Linked DNA regions of Homo sapiens: region 2 is linked to region 1. The links are contacts of gene promoters, found by promoter capture Hi-C in blood cells and fetal thymus (Javierre and others, 2016). All regions are on one chromosome and are shown on one strand. Each heading gives the region's core, a stretch centred on a gene start or on the middle of the fragment in contact. The rest is flanking DNA. Distances are from core to core; before and after follow the strand shown.

Region 1 (6,550 bases), core at 454-2,953:
TATATTAGTCAAGAAGTTTATTCTTTTCCTTAGAGGTAGAATGAAATATAGCCCCCCACCCTCCGGAGGCCTGGGTTAAGAGAGAATATTAACCGCTTATTTCTCCTCTACGCACGGAGAGGCTTATCTGTGTTCCACCGTTTCACGTTCCTTGAGGCACCACGAGTTCCTGCTTCCCTCCCTAGCGCGCTGTAAAGTCACAAGGTTGATAAGCAATTGCTACAAAAGCATGCATTCCCAAGGATGTAAGACATGTGGTGTAACAAATGTAAAAGAATAATTAACTGCCTTTGTTCTTGCTTCTGCAAGTAGGCTTCCTGTAGCACCAAACTCCCGCCACAAATTGCTTAAAAGGTGATTGATCCCTTTGTTCCGGGCTCAGACTTTCTGGACCCCAGTCCGACTGAGCCAGTGATCACCTTAATAATAAAGGGTTGTCCTGAATTCTGTTTGGCCTCTCCCGTCTCTATTTGTCCCGCAACACTAGCAGTATATCCTCAGGCAATTAACTTTTTTTTCCCTTGTTTCTCTCTCTGTAAAAAGGAAGAGGAATACTTATTTTGGCAGGTTATAATAAGAATTGAGTCAAACTCATTTATGTTGGCATAAAAAAATGAACAAGAAAATATAAAGCACTTAGTACAATGCCAGGCAGATCATAGGAACTCAGTAGATGGCAATTGTAATATTACAAAAGGTGATGGAAGTCAAAGACAATTTACTGTACCTCAAGAGAGTAGCGGTAGGATCAGAAGAATTTCCCAAATGTGTTCACAGACCAAAACTGGGGGAAAAGCAGGGTAGTTTCCTGGTAAGACGAACAGCACATGACAAGGCAGAGATATTAAAAAGTAAGGTACGCTTCCAGGACGAGTTCATTATTCCTGAAGGGAGAAGGCAATAAGGGTGGAAAAACTGGGCCGAGAGGGGAATCCAGGTTGGTGATGCCCCTGGAGGGCAGGTAATTCTTACTAATTTCTGTATTTTCTGCTGCTGGCACAAAACGTGACCCATACGTTTGCAACAAATGGTGAAATAATTCATTCCTGTTGTTAAGCAATAGGGTTGTAGAAATATTTGAGCAGTAAACATGCTACAGTGAAAGGATTCTCGGATTTGGAGTCAGGAGACCTGAAGCACTCTTTTGACTAATGACCTGTGTTTTTTTACTGGTTTTACAACTTACCTGCTGCCTGGCCTTACCAAAGTACTGATATATTGAGTCTCTTGACCCATAAAACAGGGGTAACAACTAACAAGCGATTATTAAAGAGTTGGCGCTAGTAAAGTACGCAATAAAAACAGCGGCTGCAGCTGCTAAATTCTCCTTTAGGTCTTTTTCCATACTTGCGAAATGACAGGGCAACAAATTTCCTTCCAACCACCACTGAGAAAGTATACCACGTTTGCCCAAGGACAAAAAGGCCCCGCCCGGCCCGCGCCACACAGGTCACCTACGCAGAATGCAGTCCTGGGGGGTTCCACTTGTGTCGCTCAGCGATGGAGGGCGCGATCGATGACAGGCCACTCCAGAGACGGACCTAGATAGGTTCGCATGAGGCCGAGCCGAATTTCACCAAAAACCAGTTTACACCACCTCCCGATTTGTCCACACGAAAAGCCATGGAATAGCTGAGGGAAAGGAAACCGGAAGTAGCGTGGGCCGTGAGGAACGGGAAATGACCTCAGCACGTCGGAAGTGTACTCGTTTCCAAGGCGACGGCCCTGCTGCCTCTCCAGCCAAGTGGCTGGAGTCGGGAGGCTGGAAAGAGACTCCGAGAAAGTACCAGCGGAAGGCGGCCGCCGCTACGGCGATTCGCAGGGAGTAGCAGACGAAGACGGTGGCCGCCGCACTAGCCACCACGTGTGGAGGATAAACGGTCTACACGGCCATTCCGGCGCCGAGTCTAGGGAAAGAGTTAGCGACGACGGGGAAAGAAAATGTGAAGAGAGCGACCGCCGCTCCAGGGTCGCTGCAGGAAGCCTAAGTGCAGACGCCGGCTTCTCCCGCAGTGACTTGAGAAGGGTCAGTGAAAACCTCGGCCACTGCCGCAGCGTCTCTAGGGAGAGAGTTAGGGGAGATAGTGGCCACAGTCACAGCTGCTCTTGGGAGAGAGTTAGGGGAGACAGCACCTTCTGCAGCAGCGACGTGAATTTTAGTGAAGTTGGAGGCCACCAAACTACCGACTCCAGGGGAACAGCCAGAGAAGACCGAGGCCTCCGCCTCAGTGGTCCTTGGGAGGGAGTCAGTGACATTCGGGACCCGCGAACTAGTGACTTCGGGGATAGAGTCAGTGACGATCGCAGTCGCCGCTTCAGTGGCTCCTGGGAGGGAGGGAGTGTCGAAGGCGGCCACAGCGTTGGTAGTTCTTGGGAGGAAGTAAGTGGAGACCGCGGCTACGCAGCCAGCGACTCCTCTGGTGTGAGCGGCAGTGAAGACGCCAGCTACCGCTTCAGTGGCTTTTGGGAGAGAGAAAGTGAAGACGAAGGTTTCCGCTGCAGCTTCTGGGAGAGAGCAAGAGAGGACCTTGGGCCCCGTCCTAGTGACGACGGAGAAGAGGGCCGCTGCCGCTGCAGTGGCTCGTGGGTGAGAGCAAGTGAAGACCGCCGCAGCATCAGGGGCCTGGACTCAACTCCTCCCCAGAGTCGGAGGTGTTGCGCCATGCCCGGGGTGGCCAATTCAGGCCCCTCCACTTCCTCTAGGGAGACTGCAAACCCCTGTGAGTCAGACTGTCATTGGCCTTCATCTCTGTCGTATTCCTTTTCTCACTTAAGCCCGCAACAGCCTTAGCCCTTTCTGGCATTTCCTTTTCTCAGCCGTCACTCCCCCCTTTCCCTTTTTAATTTATTTTCAGGGGATACCAAAGCTGTTCAGCTCTCCCCTGTTCTGTATTATTTCCGCTTTCTTTCCTTTTTTCCATCCACACTATTCCTCCGAGTCTTCTTGCCCAGCTTGACATCAACTCTTGTTCAGTCTTAATGGACGGACCCTTTTAAGTTCTTCCTTGACTTCCCTGCAGCATTTGACCCTGTGGAGGTGACAAATTAGTACTTACTTAGTTTTCTTCTTTCACTCCATTGAGTGACCCTTTCCCTTACCGTTTTCTTTTCTTCTGCCATCTTCTTAAATGCAGCTTTTACCCCTTGATGATGCCATCATTGGTTCTCTTTTTCTTGTCATTTACTGTGACTTCAGTCCTACTGGTGGCCCTCAAATCGGTTACTCATTCAACCATCCAGTAAATATTTACTGCATATGCCTACTTTGTGCTCCGTCTTAAGGAACTTAAGAAGACAGGCACATTCTTTACCTTCTAGTGAGGAAGATAAATGCTGAGCAAATAATGACAAGTGAGATCAGTGTTATAAAGGACGGTAGAATGCCACTGATTCCAGTAGGGGGTGAGTATGGGTGTCAGAAAAAGCATTCTAATACAGAGACACACGTAACACTGAGACCTGAATTCCGTATCTCTCCTCGGAGCTGCAAACATATATATAGATATCTCCCTTCTGGAAATTTTCCTTGGGTACCTCAAGAGCAGCATGTCCAAAATGTAATTTTATATCTATATATCCTCTCTGTCCTTCAGTGTTTGCTGTCTCAACTAATGGCACCACAGCACTCAGATGATAAAGCCACACACCTTGGAGTTATCTTATTACTTTTCCCTTGTTTCACCCACTGTATCCATTCCAGTTTAGTTCATTCTAATTTTATTAATATTTGTTGAATCTTTCTCCTTTTCTTTTCCCAGTGTTCAGAGTCTCATTTTTTCTGGTCTAGACTATTGTAAACTGTATTCTTACATGATCTACCTACTCTCTCTCTCTCTCTTTTTTTTTTTTTTTTGGAGACGGAGTCTTGCTCTGTCCCCCATGCTGGAGTGCAGTGGCGCGGTCCTCAGCTCACTGCAATCTCCGCCTTCCAGGTTCACACCATTCTTCTGCGTCAGCCTCCCGAGTAGCTAGGGCAACAGGGGCCCACCACCACACCCGGCTAATTTTTTGTATTTTTAGTAGAAACGGAGTTTCACTGTGTTAGCCATGATGGTCTCCTCCTGACCTCATGATCTGCCCACCTCGGCCTCCCAAAGTCCTGGGATTACAGGCGTGAGCCACCGCGCCCGGCCAATCAACCTACTCTTTAGTCTTGCCTTTTTGCTCCCCATTCAGTAAATTCTCTTCCCTGAATTTAGCCTTGTAAACTCAGCCTTACAGCTCTCAATCATTATAATTCTTCTGTTTAAAATTCCTCAGTGATTCTCCACTGTCTGCTCAAGTCCAAGTTTTTAAAAATAAGTTTCACCATTGTCTGTTTCTTGTCTAGTTCTAGCCTATTTATCCCCTTAATACTTTAGTAGTAGGATTTGTGTGTGAGTGTGTGAGAGTGTGTGTGTGTGTGTGTGTGTGTGTGTGTGTGGTTTCTTGACCATGTCCTACTGTTCATGCTGTTTAGGCCTACTCACTGCTCCTACTTGCCTTGGCAAACTCCTGTTAATCCTTGAAGATTCTATCTTAGATGTAACTTTCCCCAGGAATCCTTCTGTGTTCCCCTTCCCTCCTACCCTGGCTGAGTTTGAAGTCATCTGTGCTTCCACAGGTTCCTATGAATATTTCCATCGTTGCTTTTACCACATTATTTTGTATTTTGTGTTTGTATCTTCTCTACTAATCTGTGAGTTCCTTGAGGGTGTCTTCATCTTTTTATCCTTATGGTAGACACCAGACTTACGTTGAGTAGATGGATGAGTGGATGAGTGAATAAATCGGGATGGAATGTAGTGAGAAAAAAGACCATAAAATTAGATGGAGCCAAATTATGGGAGGCCATAGAGGTCATACTGAGAGTTTGGGTTTTGTTTTGTAGAGTAGCAGTGACCAACCAGTGGCAGTTTAGAGTAGGGGCATGAAGTGATTAGGATAGTTGGTCTGTGTAAGATGGATTAGAGGAGTGTCTCTGTGTAAAATAAGTAGAGTGGATAGAACATCATTTGTAGGTCTGGCTGTGCTAGTTTAAAGAAGAATGAAGGTCCGGCCTAGGGATTAACATCACTGAACGTTTATTAAAGGTGTGTGTGTGTGTATGTGTACATGTGCACACCTTACAGATGCTCTCGTTCCCATTTGCCATATATCTTAATTGTTCTTCAAGGTCTTGCTTGAATGTTTCCTCCTCCTCTGTGACTTGTTTTGTTTCTCCTTAATTTTACCTGTACTCTCTGAGGACATTGCTGTCAGGTTTTTGTTTTCATTATGTATTTATCCAAATAGATTTTAATGTGTTGGCGGAAAAAAAATGTATTAAATCCATGTCCATTTTCTATCATGTTATCATAGTGCCTGACTCATGGTAGATGTTCAGAAAGGCTTTTTGAGTACAGTTATAGCAGTTTGCTAAGAGCAAAGATATAATTAGAGTATATAAAAAGATGTAATAAAAGTAAGATATAATTCCAGTGTAAAATATTATTTTTGCCCTTAAGAAATTAACATTCTGATTGTGGAGAGAGGACATGTACATAGATAAATAGTAGTACAAGGTTGCACAGATCATTTGCCAGATGTGTTGGTGAGCTGTTTTCAAAACAACTTCAGGTCAGGAATCATGCCTGTTTTATTTAGAGAATGCTGAAGTTGAACTGCTTACTCCTTCATTCTTCTCTAATAGTTATCTGTTCGTGCTTAGATACCTTTATTGCCTCTGGTTCACAATGCTTATTAATTAAATTATAAAATATGAAGCACTAAGAGTATGTGAATTAAAAATCGTGGCCTGCCATTCCTTTCTTAGTGTAAGACATAAATTAGAAATATAAGAAAGATGTTGATAAAATATATTTGCATGTATGAGATGAGGCTCTGGTGAAGTCTTTTTCACTAGGGAGGCCTTTGTTATGGAGAACAACACATGGGGCATATTTCAAAATGGTTACTTTCCCCTTCTCACTGCCAAAAACATGAGTTCCTGGCTTTTCACAATGGTAACCTGGTGAGGTTTCTGAAGGTAAAATCTATGAAAGTGTAGTGGCTCCCTAGGTAAGAGTGTGGCCCTTAGAAGTTTCTCATTCTTTGGCTAGTATGTACTCAACCTCTGGCAAGTCATCAACATTACCATGTAAGTGCTTCTACCACTTTATGGCTCCAGGACTGTATTTTTCTGTATTTGTCTCTCCAGATTTGGGGTGGCAGTTTGCCCTGAGACCTCAGTTCTCTGATGGGTCCAAGAAAAGTTGTTCATTTTCTGTTCATTCATTTTTCCCTATAAGGATGGGAGTGTCAACTTCCATGCTTTTTACATGTCAGTGTTGGAACCAGAAGTCTGTTTAAGATATTAATGACAAACATCTTTGTAGTAAATTATTTGGAAAGCCAAAGTAATTTTGTGCTTTCTGTTATATCACTGTTTTAGTCTTTTTTTTTCTTTCATAGTTTTGTAGTACATTGTAAGTAATTTGATTTTTCAATAGGTTCCAGGAAGAAGGTGCATTTTGGCAGCATACATGATGCAGTACGAGCTGGAGATGTAAAGCAGCTTTCAGAAATAGTG
Region 2 (6,584 bases), core at 3,687-6,186, 310 kb before region 1:
CAGCCAGTGAAAGCAACTGAGAGGGAGGCTGTACCCTGCAAAGCCACAGGGGTGGAGCTGCCCAAGACCATGGGAACCCACCTCTTGCATCAGTGTGACCTGGATGTGAGACCTGGAGTCAAAGGAGATCATTCTGGAGCTTTAAAATTTGACTGCCCACTGGATTTCGGACTTGCATGGGGCCTGTAACCCCTTTGTTTTGGCCAATCTCTCCCATTTGGAATGGCTGTATTTACCCAATACCTGTACCCACATTGTATCTAGGAAGTAACTAACTTGCTTTTGATTTTCTAGGCTCATAAGCAGAAGGGACTTGCCTTGTCTCAGGTGAGACTTTGGACTGTGGACTTTTGGGTTAATGCTGAAATGAGTTAAGACTTTGGGGGATTGCTAGGAAGGCATGATTGGTTTTGAAATGTGAGGACATGAAATTTGGTGGGGCCAGGAGTGGTATGATATGGTTTGGCTGTGTCCCCACCCAAATCTCAACTTGAATTGTATCTCCCAGAATTCCTACATGTTGTGGGAGGGACAAATGGGGAGGTAATTGAATCATGGGGGTCGTTCCCATGCTATTCTCATGATAGTGAATAAGTCTCATGAGATCTGATGGGTTTATCAGGGTTTCCACTTTTGCTTCTTCCCCATTGTCATTATGATGTTAGCTGGTTATTTTGCTCATTAGTTGATGCAGTTTCTTCCTAGCACTGAGGGTCTTTATAATTCAGCATGTTTTTGCAGTGGCTAGTACCGGTTGTTCCTTTCCAAGTTTAGTGCTTCCTTCAGGAACGCTTGTAGGGCAGGCCTGGTGGTGACAAAATCTCTCAGCATTTGCTTGTCTATAAAGGATTTTATTTCTCCTTCACTTATGAAGTTTAGTTTGGCTGGATATGAAATTCTGGGTTGAAAATTCTTTTCTTTAAGAAGGTTGAGTGTTGGCCCCCACTCTTGTAGAGTTTCTGCCAAGAGATCCACTGTTAGTCTGATGGGCCTCCCTTTATGGGTTACCCAACCTTTCTCTCCGGCTACCCTTAATATTTTTTCCTTCATTTCAACTTTGGTGAATCTGACAATTATGTGTCTTGGAGTTGCTCTTCTCGAGGAGTATCTTTGTGGTGTTCTCTGTATTTCCTGAATTTGAATGTTGGCCTGCCTTGCTAGGTTTGGGAAGTTCTCCTGGATAATATCCTGCAGAGTGTTTTCCAACTTGGTTCCATTCTCCCCGTCACTTTCAGGTACACCAATCAGACATAGATTTGGTCTTTTCACATAGTCCCATATTTCTTGAAGGCTTTGTTTGTTTCTTTTTACTCTTTTTTCTCTAAACTTCTCACTTCATTTCATTCATTTGATCTTCAATCACTGATACCCTTTCTTCCACTTGATTGAATCAGCTGCTGAAGCTTGTGCATGCATCACGTAGTTCTCGTGCCATGGTTTTCAGCTCCATCACGTCATTTAAGGTCTTCTCTATGCTGTTTATTCTAGTTAGCCATTCGTCTAATCTTTTTTCCAGGTTGTTAGCTTCTTTGCGATGGGTTCAAACATCCTCCTTTAGCTCAGAGAAGTTTGTTATTGCCAATCATCTGAAGCCTTCTTCTCTCAACTCATCAAAATCATTCTCCATCCAACTTTGTTCTGTTGCTGGTGAGGAGCTGCATTCCTTTGGAGGAGAAGAGGCACTCTGATTTTTAGAATTTTCAGCTTTTCTGCTCTGGTTTCTCCCCATCTTTGTGGTTTTATCTACCTTTGGTCTTTGATGATGGTGACGTACAGATGGGGTTTTGGTGTGGATGTCCTTTCTGTTTGTTAGTTTTCCTTCTAACAGTCGGGATCCTCAGCTGCAGGTCTGCTGGAGTTTGCTGGAGGTCCCTTCCAGACCCTGTTTGCCTGGTATCACCAGCGGAGGCTGCAAAACAGCAAATATTGCAGAATGGCAAATGTTGCTGCCTGATCCTTCCTCTGGAAGCTTTGTCTCAGAGGGGCACCCAGTTGTATGAGATGTCAGTCGACCCTTACTGGGAAGTGTCTCCCAGTTAGGCTACTCAGGGGTCAGGGACCCACTTAAGGAGGCAGTCTGTCCATTCTCAGATCTCAAACTCCATGCTGGGAGAACCACTACTCTCTTCAAAGCTGTCAGACAGGGAACAATTAAGTCTGCAGAAGTTTCTGCTGCCTTTTGTTCAGCTATGCCCTGCCCCCAGAGGTGGAGTCTACAGAGGCAGGCAGGCAGGCCTCCTTGAGCTGCAGTGGGCTCCACCCAGTTCGAGCTTCCCGGCCACTTTGTTTACCTACTCAAGCCTCAGCAATGGCAGATGCCCCTCCCCCAGCCTCTTTGCCACCTTGCAGTTGGATCTCAGACTGCTGTGCTAGCAGTGAGCGAGGCTCTGTGGGTGTGGGACCCTCTGAGCCAGGCACAGGATATAATCTCCTGGTGTGCCATTTGCTAAGACCATTGGAAAAGCACAGTATTAGGGTGGGAGTGTCCCAATTTTCCAGGTACCGTCTGTCATGGCTTTCCTTGGCTAGGAAAGGGAATTCCCTGACCCCTTGCACTTCCCAGGTGAGGCAATGGCCTGCCCTGCTCCATGGGCTGCAACCACTGTCTGACAAGCTCCAGTGAGAAGAACCCAGTACCTCAGTTGGAAATGCAGAAATCACCCATCTTCTGCATCATTCATGCTGGGAGCTGTAGACTGGAGCTGTTCCTATTCGGCCATCTTGGAACCTCCTCACTTTGCTCATTTTAGTGTTTAGAAACACAGTCCAAATCAGAAAAGCTCAACAAGCCCTGCTATTATGCAAGAGCAAAAATATTGAGAAGGAAAACAAAATGGTGAATAAATAAAAGCCTAAAGAAAACTAGAGAGGAGGAAATGTGTGTTTTTCCCATCTGCCCTTATGGAGGAAAAAAAAAAAAAAAACCCTCTGCAAGGAAGGACTTAATTTTCAAGGGAAAACCTATAAACTGCTAAGCCACTGCCAAGTGCCTGCTCCCACAAACAGAATCATCTTCCTACAATAGGAAGTCATTTTCACTGTGCAATTTTCCCTCTTCTAGACTTGCATGCTTTATGCCTCTCTTGCAACACTTTATACTCATAGTAAAGGCTTTTGCTTCCAGGTCTTACCTTTCCATTATGAGAGAAACATTCTTCTTTTTAAGGCCTTTGTGGTCTAGATCAGGGTTATATAAAATGGAGGTTGTGATCCATTTGTAGGTTAGGAATTCATTTAGTGGGTCATAGTGTTTTTCTTTAACAAAATTTCATGCTATTCAGCAACCAAGTTACAGAATTTGAAATTATTTCTATTAAGAAATCTTAAAAATCTAAGTGACCTGAACCATTATGCCCCGGTGAGTGTATTAATTCTCACTTAATGGCTGTGTGTGCTCTCTACTTGAGGGACAACCACCCGTTCAACGTCATCTGAAGATGTAATTACAGTTCAGGCAGCCTCACAAAGTAGAGCACAGGTAACATCCAAATGCTACAGACAGTAAGGACTAGGGCACCTGGGGGTAGGACAGCCCCCGCTGGGCTGAGTCAGCGGGGAAGGTTTCTCTGAAGATGTGGGGTTTAAGCAGGGCCCTATAAAGCCTGGATTGGACAAAAGGAGAGGAGAAAAAAAACATGGTGCCAGCTGGCCTGGGCTGAATCTAAAAGAACAGAGGGACTGAAGGGGGTATTATAATAAGTTAGCCTGGAATTATATGGTACAAACTGGTAACCCTGGGAAAGCAAAGAAGGGGCAGAAACGAGGATGGAATCTTGGAAATGTCTTGGTGATTGACTGGATTTTGGTTTGGATGTGAAGGTGAGAGAATCAGAAAATTCCAAAGTTTTCTATCCCATGTGAACAGGAGAGTGCAACTGACCCTTGAACAACAGGGTGATTAGGGGCACCAACCCACCCTCCACAACCCACAAATGGTCAAAAATCTGCCTATAACCTTTGACTCCCAAAAACTTAATAGAACATACTATTGACCAGAAGCCTTACTGATAACATAAAGTCAATTAACACATATTTTGTATATGTATTATATTCTGTACTCCTACAATAAAATAAGCTAGGTAAAAATGTTATTAAGTAAATCTTAAGGAAGAGAAAATATATTTATTATTCATTAAGTGAAAGTGGATCATCACAAAGGTCTTTATCCTCATCTTCACTTTGAGAAGGCTGAACAGGAGGAGGAGAAAGAGGAGGGGTTGGTCTTGCTGTCTCAGGGGTGGCAGAGGCAGAAGAAGTGGAGGAGGTGAAAGGGGAGACAGAAGAGATGTATTGAAAAAAAACGTTTATAAGTGGACACGTGCAGTTCAAACCCATGTTGTTCTAGGGTCAACTGCAGTAGTATTCATAGTAATGTGAAAAATTCAGAGAAGTTTTAAAAAGAAGTGTTATGTAATAACATTAACATTTGCTATAGAAGTTAAACCTGTTTTGGACACCTGAGTTGTGCTGAGATATCCATATTAGGGACACTAAGCAGTACAGACAGAATCCCATTCTGTAGGCACTCACTACCTGGGAGGACCAAAGCTGATACTGAGCCAGTTCTTTTTTTTTTTTTTTTTTTGAGACGGAGTCTCGCTCTGTCGCCCAGGCTGGAGTGCAGTGGCGCAATCTCGGCTCACTGCAAGCTCCGCCTCCCGGGTTCACGCCATTCTCCTGCCTCAGCCTCCCAAGTAGCTGGGACTACAGGCGCCCGCCACTACGCCCGGCTAATTTTTTGTATTTTTAGTAGAGACGGGGTTTCACCGTTTTAGCCGGGATGGTCTCGATCTCCTGACCTCGTGATCCGCCCGCCTCGGCCTCCCAAAGTGCTGGGATTACAGGCGTGAGCCACCGCGCCCGGCCGAGCCAGTTCTTAAAATACTGAAATATTTCCATATGAGTTGGAGAAAAACTACCTGTGCAACACACACACACACACACACAGCCCTACTGCCACAGACCCTTTTTTAGATCTCCAGACCTAAAGAACGATGATACTTCAAAAGGCCTCAACTCCATGACTAGCTTCTGTTCCCACTGGCCAGTGTCTATGCCATATTGGTAGTACAATACTGGCAGACTGTTGACAAAACCAAGTACTAATGGTAGAAGAATAACTTCAGCTTGAGCCAGTTATTTGTCTGAAGAGCTGATGAAGGCACACACTGAGATACACTGATGGGTGGAGTCCTAGCACTCAGGCTGCTCACAGTCTAACAGGATACCAACATATAAATAAATAAAGCAATGCGATCCAGAGTAGCAGCATCGAAGTAGCTATAAAGTGCAATAAGAGGCACAAAGAGGATAGTAGTCAGTTACCCAGCCCATGGCAGGGAGGCAAAGCAGTTCCTAACAAGAGGTGATACAAGACCTGAGCAGTGAAAGATGAACAGGAGTTTGCTAGGGAGAGAAAGGAGGAAGACAAACCATTCCAAGCTGATAGACAGCAGCACTATGTAAGCCACAACCCAATATACTGTGTACAAAATAATGAAATGAAAAATGTGTAATGTCTGGCACACAGTGTCAATAATAAATAACAATAAATAATAAATATTAGAGTTTTTCTGGCAGATTTATTTCTCTGATTATGTTTTTAAAGGTTGATCCTAAAATATATTTGCATTGTCTAAGCCTACACTAGCTAAGCAAGGGATGGGCATTCAAGATATCCCGGAAGGCAGGGGTCAGTCAGTTTGGAATTTAAAAATAAAGCACGTAAAAATAAATTCACAACATCAATTAGTGTTGACTGCACTTGTTAGATGTGTGTAAGCAAAGATGAGACTTGGTGCTGCTGCAGGCCTCTCAGATGCACAGATGAGTGTGACCCAAGGTTGCTTAATGAAATCACAGAAGGGTGGTTGGTAAGTGTAAATTCCCATCTCTTTTAAAGGGTTGTTGTTTTTTTAGAAATTAGACTACATAAAAAGGCAAACCACAGCCTGTTTTAGTCTGCACTGGTCACTGTCATCTAGAGCCAATTGTTCAAGAGGAAGGAAACACTCAACGCCAAGGAGAAGAGAGTCATCACCGCTGCTTTCCAAAATTGTTGTATGAGCTGCTCCCTCAAAGGAAGAGGCCATCAGTGCTCAGGAAGAGGCAGAGATTTCCGACAGTTTTAAAGGACAGTGTCTGCAGTGTGACCCACAGTTCAAGCTGCATAAAAATATAAATTCACTGACAAATGATAACAAGTACTTCCTTACTTTCCTATCTGCTGAATCACAGCCATTGTTTGGGTTGTAGTTCCTGGTTTAAATTAGATTATTCAATCACAATGATGCTGGCCAAACATGCTGGTCATATGCCATCAGGAAAACTTATCAAAAATATCATTTGTGCTGGGCACAGTGGTTCAGGCCTGTAATCCCAGAACTTTGGGAGGCTGAGTAGGAGGATCACTTGAGCCCAGGAATTCGAGACCAACCTGGGCAACCTGTAGAAACCCCATCTCTACAAAAAAATACAAAAATTAGCCAGGCATAATGGTCATACCTGTAGTCAAGCTCCTCAGGAAGCTGAGATGGGAGAACTGATTGAGCCCGGGATGTCGAGGCTGCAGTGAGCCATGATCA

Evidence for each region. The method cuts DNA at HindIII sites, captures the fragments that hold promoters and counts their contacts. A CHiCAGO score of 5 or more calls a contact.
Region 2: a fragment that was not itself captured here is called in contact with the fragment with the promoter of ANKRD42 in region 1 in 4 of 17 cell types (naive CD8 T cells, neutrophils, total B cells and 1 more); the score reaches 7.7 in naive CD8 T cells.

Annotation. Positions count from the first base shown.
Region 1 is chr11:83,192,009-83,198,558 of GRCh38, forward strand. ANKRD42 (ankyrin repeat domain 42) reads left to right here and starts at 1,704. Exons shown (of 11, transcript NM_001300975.2): 1 at 1,704-2,720; 2 at 6,471-6,550. The coding sequence starts at 2,663. ANKRD42-DT (ANKRD42 divergent transcript) reads right to left here and starts at 1,661. Exons shown (of 3, transcript NR_149009.1): 1 at 1,459-1,661. RefSeq lists enhancers at 1,411-1,630, 1,691-1,800, 2,321-2,680 and a silencer at 1,935-2,113. The HindIII fragment of the contact is 14,061 bases long and covers 1-6,550 here.
Region 2 is chr11:82,877,929-82,884,512 of GRCh38, forward strand. The region is part of intron 1 of PRCP (prolylcarboxypeptidase); the gene reads right to left. Among named protein-coding and RNA genes, the nearest start is that of PRCP, 19 kb to the right of the region's middle. The HindIII fragment of the contact is 5,939 bases long and covers 1,968-6,584 here.